Linked DNA regions of Homo sapiens: region 1 is linked to region 2. Evidence: promoter capture Hi-C in human tissues and cell types (Jung and others, 2019). All regions are on one chromosome and are shown on one strand. Each heading gives the region's core, a stretch centred on a gene start or on the middle of the fragment in contact. The rest is flanking DNA. Distances are from core to core; before and after follow the strand shown. Region 1 has its middle 58 kb from the start of TRC-GCA6-1. Region 2 holds the start of PIK3R4 (phosphoinositide-3-kinase regulatory subunit 4).

Evidence for each region. The method cuts DNA at HindIII sites, captures the fragments that hold promoters and counts their contacts. A contact is called where the count stands out against the background at its distance.
Region 1: a fragment that was not itself captured here is called in contact with the fragment with the promoter of PIK3R4 in region 2 in 1 of the 25 tissues and cell types used here (dorsolateral prefrontal cortex).

The regions. Positions count from the first base shown.
Region 1 is chr3:132,168,459-132,173,004 of GRCh38, reverse strand. No RefSeq gene overlaps it. Among named protein-coding and RNA genes, the nearest start is that of TRC-GCA6-1, 58 kb to the left of the region's middle. The HindIII fragment of the contact is 7,011 bases long and covers 1-4,546 here.
Region 2 is chr3:130,745,462-130,750,250 of GRCh38, reverse strand. It overlaps PIK3R4 (phosphoinositide-3-kinase regulatory subunit 4), which reads left to right and starts at 3,422. Exons shown (of 20, transcript NM_014602.3): 1 at 3,422-3,933. RefSeq lists a silencer at 2,398-2,447 and an enhancer at 3,682-3,741. The HindIII fragment of the contact is 7,513 bases long and covers 1-4,789 here.

The sequences.
Region 1 (4,546 bases), core at 1,291-3,790, 1.4 Mb before region 2:
ATCTCCAACTCTTGGGCTCAATCAATCCTCCCATCTCAGCCTGCTGAGTTGCTGGGAGTACAGGCATGTACCACCATGCCTCAGCCTCCCAGATCATTTTGATTATAGGCATGACCCACTGCACCTGGGTCCTAATGAGTGTGATATAAAGATTAAATGATGTAATGTATGCACAATTTTTGACTTGAAGTAGGCTGTCAATGTTAGTTTTCTTTCTTCTTTCAAAATAATTAACAAAATGAATCTTTAAAACAATAGTCCCAGGAGAATCTGAAGCTTTAAGCTCTTTGTTTTGATTCAGCTCCAGTGTTCCAGAGGCTTTCCTTGTGTACATGAGATAGTTTGGGGGACTTTCTGTTTGGTGTTATGCTGGTGCTCTTTTGTCCTATGCTATTTTCATGGCTGTCAATTGACCAAGGGTCTATAAACACAGTACTCTCACAGTAATCTCACGAAAATCAGGTGCAGAATTGGAGTGGGCTTCTACAAGTTATTGGTATCTGACGCTACTGGTCATTAAAATGATTCTTGTCACTTGAGGAATGATACAGAACAACCACCAACCCCATCTCCTTTCACTCAAAGAGGAGCACAAAAGGTATCACCCATAATTAGTGTGTTTTGTTGTTCATGTTCCCAAGTCAACCCTAGAGATGGAGCCAAGGTTATCACATCCACATGGAACATTCTTTTTCACCTCTAGTCAGGAGATAGCAGGAGGAAGTTTGTGTTTCTCTCTTTTTCTGCAACTATGCTACAATTTGACACTGAAAATACTCAGGCTCGAGGTTTAATTTGAATATCTATGGTATAAAATTACCAGTGTTCACACCCCCTAGCATTTTCCTGACAAATTAATTGCCAATACAATTTTCAGCAGTGGGTATGTGTGGAGCGAGGCAGGGTTGAGAGTTCAGCTTATGGGAGGTAATTATAGGTGCCCTTGGCTGGGAAAGAGCACAGATGATGCTAAAGGAGCCAATGTTTTGGGTAAGCAGCACCTGCTCCTTTGCCAGCTCTGTAGACCCATGGATCTGGGAAACATATATAATTTGGAGGATTTAGGGTCTACCTTTGGTCACATAATTTAATCTCTTAATCATCGTGTGTTCTGTGGTTGCCGTGAGCTCTCTGAAACTGAACTGTGTGTCTCCATTACTTGGTTCTTAGATCTTTTCTCCATTTATTCAATACTCCAAGCCTTCAAAGCATCAGGATAAAGAAGGCAAACAGCAAAACTCTCAAAGGCAGAGAGTAAATAAAGCTATAAAGAGATTCTTCATTTTGGCTAGGTCTAAGGGAAGGGGCACTTTTGTTGATATATCTGAAAGTAAGTGGTCTCCTCTGAAAGAGGTGGAAAAACATTCTGTTGAGATGAAGCACCTGACCTTTTAAGAAATAATCTCTGCTTATTTCTAAGTATTCATTGGAAAACGATTTATCTCAAATATACACCTTTAGACAAGATGCATTAGTTCCTTTTTCAACCTAAGCCTCTCAGGAGTTGTAATCCTCTAGCATCTGAAGATATTTGCTGTTGGGGTTATTTTAATTTTTATTTTATTTAATTGTAAAAACAATAATAAAAACCAAGCAGACAAACAAAAACCTTAAAAAACCCTAAACTGGGGTGAGGGAGGATTGGAGGAGTAGATGGTTGAAGACCAGAACAGATATAAAGCCATAAACATCCTCCTTAAACTTTTTCAAGTTTTAAAAATACTAGCAATTTTATAGATTTGTTTTCATCTCAAAGATATTTTTGAAAATAAAGGGTTATAACATTATTATGTGACAAAGTAAAATAACAGAGAAGTGCACATTTGATTCCATTAAGTCTTGTTCTCAAGTTTTTCCTGTGATGTCAGTTGCTTTTAAAAATATGAAAGATCCAGTGAGAATAAGATAATATTTCTGGCACTCTAGTCCCTGCAATAATGGGATTGGAGAGAAAGGAATGAGGATATTTGCTGGCCAAGGTTAATATACAAGGGTTTCATCCTGTCTTCTTCATGAATTTGAATCTCATCACCCAAATATCTCAGCTACAAGGATTCTGCTATGTTTTCTGGAAAACAAGTCCACTTTCAGAACTCTCACCAAGTTAATCACAGTCAGAAGATGCCAAGGTTGGGCAGGACCATCTACTCCAACTCTTTCATTTAACAGATGAACTAAGGTCCATAGATGGACAAGGGACTTACCAAAGATTGTCCAGCAGGTTAGTTTAGAATAAGGGCTAGAATCTAGGTTTTCTTTAAAGCAGCAATAAGCAAGTGCTATAGGAATAATCAGTTGCTTCACATGGATGTGGGCCCTGAATTCCTAATTTGGAAATCAGTTGTGCTCTACAAAATTCACAGATTCGTGATGCTATTTGATACAAATGTCATCGTGTTGACAGTCAGGTGGACCTTGGAAAGAAGAGAAAAAGAGAATAAACATTTATGGAGCATCTACTATTGCAAGAAACTTCCACTTTACTATTGCATGTGATTTTCACATCTCCCTGATGAAGTGGATATTATTTCTATTTTTAAATGAGAAAATAAAGGCTCAGAGAAGTTGAACAATTTGCCAAAGACCTTGTAGATGGTAATGTAGAATTTGAACCCAGAAATATGATTCAAAGCCCATCTAAAGTCTTTCCATTCACTCACCACTTTTTGCTTCACCCCATTACATCATTATTTTTGCTACTCTTTCCAATACTAGGCAAACCACAAAGCAGGATCTAGATCATTAGCCTTATCATTGAATGCAGGCATTTATGGTGCATTTATCAAGTACTTAGTTTTGTAGTGGGTGTGTGGAAATGCCAAAGGGTAATGAGACCTTTGTGTAACTGAGAAGGGCTTTCTAGGTGTAAAGGCATCAGATAAGTGTGGCCTTCTATTTCAACTCGCAGGAAATTCATTTTCCCATGGTGTGCAAGGCCCTATGTCCTTGCTACTCAAAGTGAGCTCTATGAACTAGCAGTGTCAGCATCACCTGGTAGCTTTTTAGAAATGTAGAATCTCAGCATCCCACCCCCATTAGATTCTGCATTTTAACAAGATTTCCAGGTGATTTTTATTCACAATCAGGTTTGAGATGCACAGCCCACCTCCTCTCTGACCTTATTGCCCAGGTATAGTAGCCTTCTTTTTGCCCCTAAACATGCTTACCTGGCTCCTGCCTTATGGCCTTGGCATTTGCTGTTCCATTTGGCTGACCGCTTTATCTTCTAATTTTTTTATGACTCTATTTTGTTCTTCAGCTTTCTGCTCAAGCAATATTGTCTCAGAATGTCTGAGTGCTGACTTCCAGGGAACTGCGTTATCTTGTTATATTTTCTCATAGTATTTATTCTCTGAAATTATACCATTTATTTATTCGTTTACATGTTTATTATCTCTTTCCTCACTAGACTGTTAAACTCCATTAATGCAGGAATGATTTGCCTGTCTATTCATTGTTTTATTCCCAGCACCTGGAACACTGCCTGGCCCAAGTTAGGCATTCAATACGTATTTTATGAATCAATAAATGAATGAACAATGGACAATATTTCACTGCTATTGAAATTTCGACATGTTGATACTAAAAGCTAAGATTATTTGTTTTATCTAACCAACCATGAATCAATGTGACAACAACAGTTTGGTGTATTTTCTGGTTTAAGTTCTTTGATGCTGCAATTCATGAATCAAGGAAAGCTGCAGGAGAAAGAAAATTCTCTTTTTAAACTTTTGTCAATTTCATAAAAATATTGATTTTGTTAGGGTGGCATTTGGGGATTTCAGACATATCTGTATAGGGAAGTTTTTCTCTTAATATCTTTTCAGCAATTTCCCTTGAAAAATGCAGATGTATGGATTTGGCACAGGCAAAAGTACTATGGAAACCTTCCCTTTTGATTCACAGGCACCTACAATGAAGTGGTTTGTTTCTTGGCTAAAAACACCAGTTTAGAGAGAGTTCATGCATACTTCACGAGCTGACTCTGCAATAATACACTGCAGATCTTGCTGGAAGGAACAGCAAAGGTAACTCTCTGAATTCTGATGAGACATCCTGGGAAGAACTCTTACACCTACTATTTATGAGAGCGTTATAAAAAAGAAAATGAGAAAGAAAAATGATTTCACACTTAATATATGTCAGGTGACTTAGAAAACAAGATCTCATTTTAATTATTGTGACAACTTTGTGAGATAATATGACCCCATTTTACAGAGCAACAAATGAAGATTCAGAAATTGAGACTTGTTCAAAGGCATCTTTCTAGTAAGTGGTAGAACTGAAATTCAAGTTCATGTTCTTTCCATCATGTTGCTGTCCCATTCTCAGTGAAACTCCATCCTCCACCAACTTCCCACTATATTTTGCAGTTGCCTTTATATGGCAACTTTTTTTGTGTGTGTGTGTGAGCCAAATTTCCTTCTGGTTTCAGAAGAGCACCCTAGAGACTAATAGCCTCATAAAGAATTTATGAGAAAAACAGAAGTGATGGTGCAAAATCTTCAGTACTGCATGGACAGGAGATGCTTAGATCTGAGGTGAG
Region 2 (4,789 bases), core at 2,173-4,672:
GTTGAATGTCTATCATCTGTTAGGTATGGTTCTAGGTGTTGAAGACACCCTCGTGAGTAAGAATCACACAATCACTGTTGTTGTGGAGTTTACGGTCTAGTGGTAAAACAGACAATAAGCAAATAGTTATCCCTCAAACTCAAAAGAATTCAATAATAATAAGCACTGTGAAGGAAAAGTAGAAGGTCCATGAAAGTATATAATGGGGGGCAGTCAGTGAAGAATTGCATGAGGTGATGGCACCTAATCTGGGACTTGAAGGATAAAAAGATTTTGGCTAAAGAATAGGGGAAACAGTGTTCTAAGCAGAATAAAGAGTAAATGTGAAGGACGAGCAGTAGGAAAAGGTTTGACAAATTAGAACAGGATAGAAACAAAGAGAAAGCCAGTGTGGGAGCTGAGAGGGACAGTGAGTAATGTCAACTACAGTGCAGCAGGTGGGCAGGGGTCAGATCATGCAAGGTTTTGTGGGCCAAGATATGGATTTTTAATGTTAACCTAAAAATGAGGAGGAGCTTCTAGAAGGATGTAGGCATAGATGTCTTATGATTATAATTTCATTTAAAAAAGACTACTCTAGGACTAGCCATGTCAGACATTAAAACATCATACAATTATTTTAAAAGTACTGGTAGATGAATTAAATAGTACCTCAATGGACAGAAAAGAAAGTCCAGCAGAAGACCCAGATATATATAGGAAATCTGTTATATGGTAAATTTGACATTTCAACTAGGTGGGGGGAAATATATTACTCAACATTTTTAGATAACTGAGTAACTCTCTAGAAAAAAATAAAGTTGTAGCTATACTTCAGAAATTTGAGAGCACAAAATGAAACCGTAAAAGACCCAGAAAAAATTTTGGGAGAAGTATACAAAATAATATCAGGAGTGAGGAGTGCCTTTTCTGTGTGGGTTTCAAAATGTAGACATCATGACAATGATGGTTGCTTGGCCTAGGCCTTGAGATGGCAGTGAATGGGTTCAAGGCATATTTTGGGGATAGAATCAGCAAGAGCAAGTGATCACTGAATGGGAGGAATGAGTGTGGTGAGGAAGGAGGGGGAGAGTAGGAATATGTTAAGGATGACTTAATGAGTTCCAAATTTATAGTCTTGAGGAATTCAGTGGGTAGTAGTGCTGCATATTGAGATGGAGAAGAAGGGAGGAGGGAATGTTGCAGGGATAATAACGATTTCAGCTTTGGATTAAAACATTTTGTGTTTCAAAGAATACTATCAAAAAAGTGAAAAGACAACAGAGAGAAAATATTTGCAAATAATATCTCCAACAAGGGATTTGTATCTAGAATATATAAAGAATGCTTACAACTCAATAATAAAAAGACAAATAAACCAATTAAAAAATAGTCAAATCATAAACATTTCTTCAAAGAAGATATATGAATAGAAAACAAGCACAATAAGAAAGATGCTTAACGGAATTGGTTATTAGGGAAATACAAATTAAAGCAACAATGAGATACCACTTAACAGCCACCAGGATAATAAAAAAAGAAGATAATAACAGTGTCAGCAAGAATGTGGAGAAATTAGAGCCCTCATATATTGCTAATGGGAATGTAAAATGGTGCCTGCACTTTGGAAAACAGTTTGGCAGTTTCTCAAATGTTAAACATAGAGCTACCATATGAGCCCACAATTTCGTTCCTCAGTATCTATCCAACAGAAATGAAAACATATGGCAACACAAAGACTTATAGACTAATGCTATGAACATAGGAACATTATTCATAATAACGTAAAAGTAAAACAACTCAAATGTCTATTAACTAACAAAAGGGTAAACAAAATTATTTGCAACAACAAATAAATGAAGTACTAATACAAGCTACAATAGGGATAATCCTCAAAAACATTACCCAAAGTGAAAGTCAGTCACAAAGACCACATATTATATATAAAATGTCCAGAAAAGGCAAGTGTATACAAACAGAAAGTAGATTAATGATTGCCTAGGGCTGGAAGGGGGAGGAGAAATGGGGGAGAACAGGGAGTGACTCCGAATGGTTTCAGGGTTTCCTTTTGGGGTAATGAAAATGTTTAAAATCAGGCAGGCTGGGCGCGGTGGCTCATACCTGTAATCCCAGCACTTTGGGAGGTCGAGGCGGCGGATCACTTGAGGTCAGGAGATCCAGACCATCCTGGCCAACATGGTGAAACCCCATCTCTACAAACAATACAAAAACTAGCGGCCGGGCGCGGTGGCTCACGCCTGTAATCCCAGCACTTTGAGAGGCCGGGTGGATCACGAGGTCAGGAGATCGAGACCACGGCGAAACCCCGTCTCTACTAAAAAAAAAATACAAAAAATTAGCCCGGCGCGGTGGCGGGCGCCTATAGTCCTAGCTACTCGGGAGGCTGAGGCAGAAGAATGGCGTGAACCCGGGAGGCGGAGCTTGCAGTGAGCCGAGATCGCGCCACTGCACTCCAGCCTGGGCGACAAGAGCGAGACTCCGTCTCAAAAAAAAAAAAAACAAAAACCTAGCTGGGCGTGGTGGCACGTGCCTGTGGTCCCAGCTACTCTGGAGGCAGAGGCATGAGAATCGCTTGAACCCGGGAGGTGGAGTTTGCAGTAAGCCGAGATGGCACCACTGCATTCCAGCCTGGGTGACAGAGCCAGACTGTCTCCAAAAGAAAAAAAAAAAGGCCGGGCGCGGCGGCTCACGCCTGTAATCCCAACACTTTGGGAGGCTGAGGCAGGCGGATCACGAGGTCAGGAGATCGAGACCAACCTGGCTAACACGGTGAAACCCCGCCTCTACTAAAAATACAAAAAAATTAGCCGGGCGTGGTGGCGGGCGCCTGTAGTCTCAGCTACTCGGGAGGCTGAGGCAGGAGAATCGCTTGAACCCGGGAGGTGGAGGTTGCAGTAAGCCGAGATCGCTCCACTGCACTCCAGCCTGGGCGACAGAACGAGACTCAGCCTCAAAAAAAAAAAAAAAAAAAAAAAAAAAAAAAAAAAAAAAAAAAAAAATTAAAATCAGATTATAGGGATGATTGCACAACTCGATAGATGTATTAAAAACTACTGCTTTGTACATTTTAAGCAGGTGAACTTTATGGTATGTAAGTTATATCTCACCAGAACTCTAAAAATCCAGCTTGGGATATATTAGTTTTCCTAAATATTCTTGAGTTCTCTTAACTCTGTTCTGCTGTCCTGGGAGTGAAGGCGTGTCTGAGCAGATTCTAGGGGATGTCAGAAACCTCAGCGTTCGTGAATGAAAGGTAGAAGAGCAGGAAGGGGAATAGATCTTTGTCAGAGCATCATTTTCTCCCTGTAGACTCGCCCAAAGTAAGACCACGCCTTCCCTAGTTTCCTAGCAACCGGTTTCCTACCCTGGCAATTCCTCAAGGCTCACTCTTTTTCGTCACTTCCGCTCGGCGACAGGAAGTGAGGTCAGACCGGTTGCTTTCCCGGGAGTTCGGCGTTTGCTGGGGCTGCAGCAGCTGAAGTGTAGTGTTTTCTTGGGACTGGCGGTCTGCACTTCTCTCCCGGGTTCCATCTCCCCCCGCCCGGTGGTGAGGCCCTCGAGGAGGGCTCGGACGGGTGTAGCGATCCGCGCTAGAGGAAGACGAGGCCCGGGAACGCATGTCCCCCAGGGCAGGTTAGGGGGCTGGAGGGGTCAAATCCCGGGGTACTTGTGGAGACTCTTTAGCGTGGCTTCTTCTCTCTGCTGAGACCCCGAGAGCTTTCCCAGTTCTCCTCCCAGGACCACCGGGGTTCCTGAAGATCGGGACTTTTCTGCGCCCCTCCACCAACAGCCCATCTCCTGTCTATGAAGAAAGACCCTTCGTAGAAACAACTTCCCCGCTGCTGACGCGTTTTCCCGTCCCGTCCCCGAAGTAGTCTACTATGACCTCGTTGTGAGCCTCTGAACGATTTTGACACTTTCCCGAGGCCTAGGGTAAATGTTTATGTGTGCTCAAGGTCGTGTGTGTATATGTGTGGCATTTATTTCCTGCAAAACCTGAGTTAGCAGAACCCTGGGGTACGTTTAGCTAGTGTATACTTTGGTCTGCTTTTCTTTAACATCTGTGGCAAGGTTTCTTGTTGCAGACCAGCGAAGTTTGCACCTTCTTTTAGCTGGGTGAGAGGGCACACTGGAATTAGGCAGGAAGTGTCCAGGAGTTAACTGAATTTTTAGATCTTAGTTTGACCTTTTCAGTTTTCAGTTTTTCTTTTTTTTTTTTTATTTTTTGAGACGGACGGAGTCTCGCTCTGTCACCCAGGCTGGAGTGCGGTGGCGGGATCTCCACTCACTGCAACCTCTGCGTCCTGGGTTCAAGCAATTCTGCGTCAGCCTCACGAGTAGCTGGGATTACAGGCACCCACTACCACGCCCGGCTAATTTTTGTATTTTTAGTAGAGACGGGATTTTAACCATGTTGGCCAGCCCCGTCTTGAGCTCCTGACCTCGTGATCCTCCCGCCTCGGCCTCCCGAAGTGCTGGGATTACAGGCGTGAGCCACCGCGCCCGGCCAGTTTTAAGCTTTTAATGTGTCTCTTTCTTATTTCCAAGAAACTACAGATTCTTGGACAAGAACTATGTCATATGGTAACTTTGTAATTCTCATAGCCCCAAGCACAGCACGGAACACATAGTAAAGGCTCATTAATATTTTAAATTTAAATATGAGAAAATAACACAAACTAACATTTTTGGCTTAAAGTTGAAGAGGCCTATCTAAATATAGTTCAGCTCCTGGAAATGGCGATGCGCAATAGCAGGGTATTTTTAGGTAAAATAACAAGGTCTTCTT